Regions from separate parts of the Homo sapiens genome. Here region 1 is linked to region 2. Evidence: promoter capture Hi-C in 16 types of primary human blood cells and fetal thymus (Javierre and others, 2016). All regions are on one chromosome and are shown on one strand. Each heading gives the region's core, a stretch centred on a gene start or on the middle of the fragment in contact. The rest is flanking DNA. Distances are from core to core; before and after follow the strand shown.

Region 1 (2,500 bases), core at 1-2,500, 290 kb after region 2:
CCCTATGACTGGCGGCTGGAGCCCGGTGAGTGTCTCTGCGGATGACCGGCTTGGGGTGGGGCAGGTGCCCCAGACCCCAGCTGCCCTGACCCCTTCCACCCGCTGCAGGCCAGCAGGAGGAGTACTACCGCAAGCTCGCAGGGCTGGTGGAGGAGATGCACGCTGCCTATGGGAAGCCTGTCTTCCTCATTGGCCACAGCCTCGGCTGTCTACACTTGCTCTATTTCCTGCTGCGCCAGCCCCAGGCCTGGAAGGACCGCTTTATTGATGGCTTCATCTCTCTTGGGGCTCCCTGGGGTGGCTCCATCAAGCCCATGCTGGTCTTGGCCTCAGGTGAGAAGGCCTCGAACACTTAGGTCCAGCGATGGGTGAGACCAAGCTGATCCTGGGCCTGCCTTCATTGCGGCTCCTGCTCACAGTGGCCTCTAGGGGTGCTATCTACCACTCCTGGGCTGGCATGCTTGCTGTCACTGGCCCCCAGAGCAGTGACCCTGGCCTGAGCAATTAGGGTGGCTCCTTCCAGAGTCTGTGTCAGTGATGGCAAAGGGGCAGTGAACACAGAAAGTGAATCCCAGCTATCTGCTCCCAGGGTTTGTTCTTGTAGCCCCAGAGCCTGCCTGCCCAGCCCTTGCCTGCCTTCCACTTGCTCGCAGGAGTGCCTTTGCCCAGGGATGTGCTTCACTGAGGATGGATCTGCCAGAGCTAGGGCCAGACCCCCCGAGGCCCCACCTGCTCTTCCCTAGGGAGTGGCACCAGGGCCCAGCACTGACACAGCTACCACCTACTCCCCACCCCCTGTACCCTGGGAGCTGGTCTGGAGAGAGAAACACAGTCTGGACAAGAGAAACGCTCATCAGACACCACCAATAAACATCAAACAGACACCATCTTGTTTCCCCCTTTCTGGAGCACAACTCTGTGGCCCCCATTGCTGCATAAGCCACACAAGGAGCAGAAAGACACATGCCCGAGGGAGGACAGCCAGCACCGCCCCCACCATCCCCACACATCCTGGGCCTCACCCACCATCCCCACACACCCTGGTCCTCAGGAAGCCCCGCCTACTTTTTTTTTTCTTTTTCAGACAGGGTCATTCTGTCGCCCAGGCTGGAGTGCAGTGGCGTGATCATAGCCGCAGTCTCAATCTCCCTGGCCCAAGCAATCCTCCTGCCTCAGCCTCCTGGTTAGCTGAGACTATAGGCACACAACACCACACCTAATTTATTTTTGTTTTTTAGTAGAGATGAGGTCTTGCTATGTTGCCCAGGCTGGTCTCAAACTCTTCACCTTAAGTGATCTTCCTGCCTCAGCCTCCCGAAGTGCTGGGATTACAGGCGTGAGCTACTGTGCTGGGCCTTTTAAAAAATGTTTATTTGTTTATTTATGTATTTTGAGATGGAGTCTCGCTCTGTTTCCCAGGCTGGAGTGCAGTAGTGCAATCTCCACTCACTGCAACCTCCATCTCCCCAGTTCAAGTGATTCTTCTGCCTCAGCCTCCCTAGTAGCTAGGATCACAGGCATGTGCCACCACGCCTGGCTAATTTTTATATTTTTAGTAGAGATTAGGTTTCCCCATGTTGGCCAGGCTGGTCTCGAACTCCTGACCTTAAGTCATCTGCCTGCCTCGGCCTCCCAAAGTGCTAGGATTACAGGTGTGAGCCACCGTACCCGGCCCTATTTATTTATTTTTTAAGCTGGAATCTCACTGTGTCACCCAGGCTACAGTGCAGTGGTGCGATCATAGTTTACTGTAACCTCAAATTCCTAGGCTCAAGCAATCTTCCTGCCTTTGCCTCCTGAGTAGCTAGGACTAGAGGTGCACTCCACTAAGCCCAGCTGATTTTTTTTTTTTTTTTTTTTGTAGAGACAGGGTCTCACTGCATTGCCTAGTCTGGTCACGGACTCCTGGCCTCAAGTGATCCTCCTGCCTCAGCCTCCCAAAGTGTTGGGATTACAGGGGTGAGCCATGGTGCCTGTCCCTGCCATCCTTTTGAAGCCCTACAGCTCCACCCAACAGAGGTCTTATCAGGGCTTCTCATTGAGTAAGCTGACACTGAGCATCATTGAATATCAGGCCTGCTCAAGCCTGTGGCTTAGAGTCTGTGTCTAGATTGGGCAGGGACAAGATTGAGCATCTGGCTGAGCCTACACTCAGCAGGTTGTGGGCCAGGGGTAGCCAGGCCTGGCTCCCTGTCCCACCTTGCTCCATATCCACAGGTGACAACCAGGGCATCCCCATCATGTCCAGCATCAAGCTGAAAGAGGAGCAGCGCATAACCACCACCTCCCCCTGGATGTTTCCCTCTCGCATGGCGTGGCCTGAGGACCACGTGTTCATTTCCACACCCAGCTTCAACTACACAGGCCGTGACTTCCAACGCTTCTTTGCAGACCTGCACTTTGAGGAAGGCTGGTACATGTGGCTGCAGTCACGTGACCTCCTGGCAGGACTCCCAGCACCTGGTGTGGAAGTATACTGTCTTTACGGCGTGGGCCTGCC
Region 2 (5,576 bases), core at 2,754-5,253:
GCCCTCTGGCGGGTGCTCGGCAGCCACTCTGCACAGGTGCGGGGATCCCAACCCGGGAGGTGGGGCCCAACGCGCTGGCTAGTGGGGTGGCCCGGGACATAAGGAGGGTCGCTGAGAGCGGGGACGGGTCTGGGCAGACGAGTGTGGATCTCCGCGGTGATCCCCAGCGTCGAATCCTCTTCCACTGCGAGATCTTTCTTGGTAGCGAAGGGAAGGAGGGAGGGCGTTTTCGCACCACTCCTAGACGCCCTGGAGGTTCCAGGAGACCCGCCACGCTTCCCGCCTCCCACCCTGTATCTGCCCGGGCTTTCATGTCCCCGAGGCAACAGCGCCGGCTGCCTTTAGGAGTGCAGCCCAGGCAGGCCTGAGGGCCAAGGTGAGGGTAAAATTTCGCGAGTATGAGGCCCACGGAACCCAGTTCTTTCTTCCAAATATCTGGCACGCGGTTTTGAGAAAGGCGGCTGACCTCAGGCGGCCTGGGCCGTCGGGGCCTTGCTTACCTCTCTGCCGTACCAATCTCCTATTCATTAATTCATGAACCCCAGGGGAGCGAGGAGTGGGGTGGGGGTGGGGGACAATTTTTAGAGAAGTACAGAAATCTCAAACTACAGAAGGGACCCCTGCGGAAGGTAGAAAATCTGGAGGAAGGCCGGGAGCGGTGGCTCATGCCTGTAATCCCAACACTCTGGGAGGCCGAGGCGGGCGGATCACGAGGTCAGGAGTTCGAGACCAGCCTGTTCAATATGGGGAAATCCCATCTTTATTAAAAATACAAAAATTAACCCGGCATGGTGGCGCGCGCCTGTAGTCCCAGCTACTCGGGAGGCTGAGGCAGAGGCAGAGGCAGAGGAATCGCGTCAACCCAGGAGGCGGAGGTTGCAGTGAGCCGGGATCATGCCATTGCACTCCAGCCTGGGGGACAGAGCGAGACTCTGTCTCAAAAAAAAAAAAAAAAAAAAAAAAATTCTGGAGGAAGAGCTGGAGCCCTAGATAGAGAAGGGGTAGGGCTGGAGAGGAGGAAAGGGCACAGATGAGACCCTACTGCAAAGGCCTGTGTCTTACCATTGCTGAAATACCCTGTGGCAGAAGAAGCTAGCCTTAGACAACAGTTCATTCATTCAGTGACAGGCGTTGGGGGTAAGCCTCTATCTTCGAGGATAGGATGATGGAGCGGGGAGACAATACACGATTAATAAATCGTGTTATAAGTTGGTTAAGTTGGGGGGTTGGGGGGCAGAAAGAAGCAATGAGGGTCGGTTGGGGTCAGGAGTGTGGGTTGTTTAGTAATAATGGGGTCATCTGGAAGGACTCATCTGAAGATGAGTAAGGGATCTCAGCAAAACAGGACCCCACCCTCCTGCCCAGTATTTAAACGAATTTGGTTTTTAAAGAAGAATGCAAGGGTTGGAGCTGAGTGCACGGTAGCTCATGCCTATAATTCTAGCCCTTCGGGAGGCCGAGGTGGGCGGAGTTCGAGACCAGCCTGGTCAACATGGCGAGACCCCGTCTCTGCAAAAAATACAAAAATTAGCCAGGCGTGGTGGCTCACGCCCGTAATCCCAGCACTGGGAGACCGAGGCGGGTGGATCACCTGAGGTCAGGAGTTCGAGACCATCCAGCCTGATCAACATGGTGAAACCCCGTCTCTACTAAAAAAATACAGGCGTGGTGGTGCACGCCTGTAATCCCAGCTACTTGGGAGGCTGAGGCAGGAGAATCGCTTGAACCCAGGAGGCGGAGGTTGCAGTAAGCCGAGATCGCGCCATTGCACTCCAGTCTGGGCAACAAGAGCAAAACTCCGTCTCAAAGAAAAGAATAATAAAAATTAAAAAAATAAAATAAAATAAAAAGAATCTAAGTTGCAGGAGTTGTCTTGCTATGGGGGCAGCCGGATGGGCATCCGGGGTAGTTTAGGGGAGCCGCACTGTGCTACCAGCCCGTGCCTCAGGTTCACGACCCAGCGGCGACTTGGACACGCATAAGCGCGTCTTCCGTGGGAAAGCGCTCAGGACTGCCAGAGACGCCACAATGGAGCAGTCACCTCGCGAAGGTGGCTTCCGGGAAGAGCGGGCGTCGAGACTCAGGCTGAAGAGGAAAAAGGGCCTAGAGGCTGCACAGATGAGGTCGCCAGGAGGGGCGAGAAGGAGACCGAGTAGCGCCCAGACCTTCGGGCGGGGACGCTGTGACCCTGTGCTGTAAGAGTGGAACCCAGACAGGAGCCAAGGAGGAAGCGACGTGCTTCTGTGGAGCTTTAGGAATGCGGCGGTTAGGGCCACTGGTTTAGGGGAGTTGGCTGGAAGGGCGTGGCCGGAGGAAGGGCCGCCTCCACCAAGCGCAGGCGCCCTACCGGGCGGGAGGGGGAGGAGCGTTACTCGCGGTTGCGCCCCGCCCCGCGAACAAATATTTGACATTCCAGGCTTATCGGGAGGAGGGGCCCGAGGAGCAACGTTCTCCCTTCCCCCGCGCCTGATTCGCTTACCGCTTCCGGGGGAGGAGACGCATGGGCCAGTGCCCGGGTGGGCGGTCCGGAGATGGACAGCCGCGCACCAAGGCCCGCCTCCACCTGTAGGGAAAGTAAAGTGCTACTCGCTCGAACCCGCCGGGCGAAGGAAGCACTTCCCATGCTCTCCCTGTCGCCGTGTCCGGGCGCGAGTCATTTCCGTCCCGGGCGCCTGTTTCTTTAGCTGCCAAGTGGAGCTACGCTGAGCTCTCTCCCCCCGGGCCTCGCCCCTTTCCCGGGCATGAGCTCTGGTGATGCGCCCGGGTGCCCCGCTCTCTCCATTGTCCAGGGGCCGGGCCGCAGCACCCTCCTTGTCCGAAAGCGCGTGGTGCGGCTCCCGTCTCAGTCTCGAGTCGGGCTAGGCAACCGCGTGACTCAGTTCCCGCCACGCTGGAGCCCCCTCCTTCCTGCTGGATTATTCAGTTTCTCAGTCACTTATTCAGTTTCTCAGTCACCTCCCTGGGAGAGTTTGGGAAAGTAAGGAACGGCCGGGAAACGCGCCATAAAGGAGCCTCACCAAGCTCCACTGGGCAAAGGGAGGAATGGGAGCCCCAAATGCGGGGCTGTCAATTGGGTTGTAGGTGCGGGATGGAAAAGGGAGGATCTGCAGCCCGCATGCGCGCACACACGCTCAACGCTAGCCCCCCATCGGCCAGAGCGCTCGCAATCTCCAGGCAGCTTCTCCACCGTCCAGAAAGGGACGAAAGCAGGCAGGCCCCCACACGTGGGGTAGGAGTGAGGCTCCAGGCCCGTTCTACCCCTCTCAGCCTCGTCTAGGGTGCAGCTCTCTGCGATTTGGGGGGTTCCTTTCCCCAGCATTGAGGCCTGCCCACTCCCAACCCACAACGACCGCGCTCTGGCACTTCTCAGTGCCAGGCTAGCGCTCGGCCCTAGCATCTGCGTGGACAAGCCCTTCCCTGTGATCCCTGGTGACCACCCCACAGCTCTAACAACGCTGATGTTCCCGCCGCCCTCCCCTTTCCCAGGTGACTTCTGGTGATCCCCCTACAGGGTGATACCCGGCAACTCTCACCGCCCCCTTGACCCTTTGACTTCCATCAACCCCAGACCTGCCGTGTTGACCCCCACAGCCCCTAGACTGCCTCCTGGTGACTTCCATACTGGAGAAGGCCTCTGTCTTGCACGCTCCTTTGCAGAGGCCTGACGACCCCTGGGGAAGAGTGGGGGGAGAGCGGAAGAATGGGTTAGCCCCCAAAATCAGGCAGGACCAGCCCTGGAAGTAGGAATCCGGATCCTAAGCGTGCGCCCAGGCCGGGAGCGTGAGCTCTTGCGTCCTGGGTTGAGTTCTGGCGGCCCTCCCCCAAGGTTCCCGGAGCCGCCCCGGTCACGTGGCCGGCGGGGCCGGCAGGTAACTCGCCTGGAGAGGGCGTGGGCCGGTAGCCGCCCCGCCCCGCGGGGCGCCACGGGCGGGTCTTGGCAGCGCCCACTGAGCCAGCCGGGCCGCAGGTGCCGCCCCCGATACACGGTGTCCCGCCCAAGCTGATCCGCGTCTGCGGTCGGTCGGTGCGTGCGTGCGCCTCGTCGGTCCGCGTGTCTGGCCGAGAGCCCCCTTCCTCTGCGGCCATGACTCCGCCGCCGCCGCCGCCCCCTCCCCCGGGCCCTGACCCCGCGGCCGACCCCGCCGCGGACCCCTGCCCCTGGCCCGGATCACTGGTCGTCCTCTTCGGGGCTACGGCGGGTGCGCTGGGACGGGACCTGGGCTCGGACGAGACCGACTTAATCCTCCTAGTTTGGCAAGTGGTTGAGCCGCGGAGCCGCCAGGTAGGGTGGAAAAGAGGCGGTGAGGTCCCCAGGGAGCTTCCGGGGTCGAGGGGCGCGGCTGATCGGTTTCCCCCGCCGCTCACAGGTGGGGACGCTGCACAAATCGCTGGTTCGTGCCGAGGCGGCCGCACTGAGTACGCAGTGCCGCGAGGCGAGCGGCCTGAGCGCCGACAGCCTGGCGCGGGCAGAGCCGCTGGACAAGGTGCTGCAGCAGGTGAGCGCCGGGGTGGGTGGCGGCATGGCCTGGACGTGAGGACATTTCTGGGCGGGATTGGCGGCCGGAGGCTAGGCCTGGCGTGCCGCAACCAACCGGTCCAGGCGGCAGGACTGGGCTCTTGTTTGAAACTTTGAGCGACTCTCGCGTGTGCGTGCCCCTTTCATCCGCGCGTGCCAGCCATTCCCCTGGGCTCCTTACTTTTCAACCATTGCAGGAACCTACTCCTACCGAAGGGATCGGGACGCAGGCTTTGGGATCCATCCCCAGTTCCCGCCCGGGGAGCGAGGCCGAGACGCCTTTGGGAGACCTGCTGGGTCAGGTCTCCCTGAGCCGCAGCCGGAAGCGAAAGGGGTCGAGGGGCCCATATAGGTCACCTGTCCTTGCGGCCCGCGTCTTCGGCCTGCTTGGGAGCTGCTGGAGCGGAGGCGTAGGGCGGTGTCGGCCCTAGAGGTAGACGCCGCCAGGTGTAAACTGCTCGTCTAGGCCTGTCCCGGCCGGCTGGCCAGGCGTGGGCGCTGTCCCGGCCTGGCCTGGGGGACTATCTGCCTGCTGAGTGCAAAGGCCTGGGGTGCCTCCTGCCCTAGCTGAAGTGGGAGGTGGTTTCCATTGCTGTTTTCTTTTCCTTATCTTCACTACGGCGCTCATTCTATGTCTGACTCTTGAGTGTAATTAGTGTAAGTCCTTTTTATACACTCACGTTCTTTCATCTTCCAACAACTCTTGTGGTTCCTGATGAGGAGGCACCACGATGATGATTCCTTGTCTGTTCCAGAAGGGCTCCCGGCCCTTCACTTGGGGAGTTTGCTGGAGGAGAGCTGGGTTGCCTTGCTCTGTCAGCCCCAAGTTGTAAAGTGTCACAGAATTGGCAGGGAGGGTTCGTGGGTCACTGATTAGTGTTTATACTTCTCCAGCAAGGATGGAGGCTGGGGGAGGGCTGGGCAGCCTCAGGAGTGCCACCCCCTCTATGAGCAAACAGCTCAGTGCCAGCCGGTCAATAGGATGTGGGTCAAAGCTCATGCTGCCCCTGATGTCCAAGTGTGGAGCTCTGTCCTTGGAGTTTCTCTGCCCCTCGGTTGG

Evidence for each region. Contacts are between HindIII fragments. The CHiCAGO score rates a contact against its expected background, and 5 or more counts as called.
Region 1: a fragment that was not itself captured here is called in contact with the fragment with the promoter of ESRP2 in region 2 in 1 of 17 cell types (fetal thymus); the score reaches 6.4 in fetal thymus.

The regions. Positions count from the first base shown.
Region 1 is chr16:67,940,196-67,942,695 of GRCh38, reverse strand. It overlaps LCAT (lecithin-cholesterol acyltransferase), which reads left to right. Exons shown (of 6, transcript NM_000229.2): 4 at 1-25; 5 at 109-333; 6 at 2,218-2,500. Among named protein-coding and RNA genes, the nearest start is that of LCAT, 2.7 kb to the left of the region's middle. RefSeq lists enhancers at 1-344, 328-377, 2,465-2,500, 2,303-2,500. The HindIII fragment of the contact is 4,708 bases long and covers 1-2,500 here.
Region 2 is chr16:68,234,554-68,240,129 of GRCh38, reverse strand. ESRP2 (epithelial splicing regulatory protein 2) reads left to right here and starts at 4,003. Exons shown (of 15, transcript NM_024939.3): 1 at 4,003-4,282; 2 at 4,368-4,496. The coding sequence starts at 4,085. RefSeq lists enhancers at 1,452-2,038, 2,039-2,627, 2,628-3,215, 3,216-3,804 and silencers at 2,296-2,395, 2,426-2,515, 3,826-4,055. The HindIII fragment of the contact is 18,011 bases long and covers 1-5,576 here.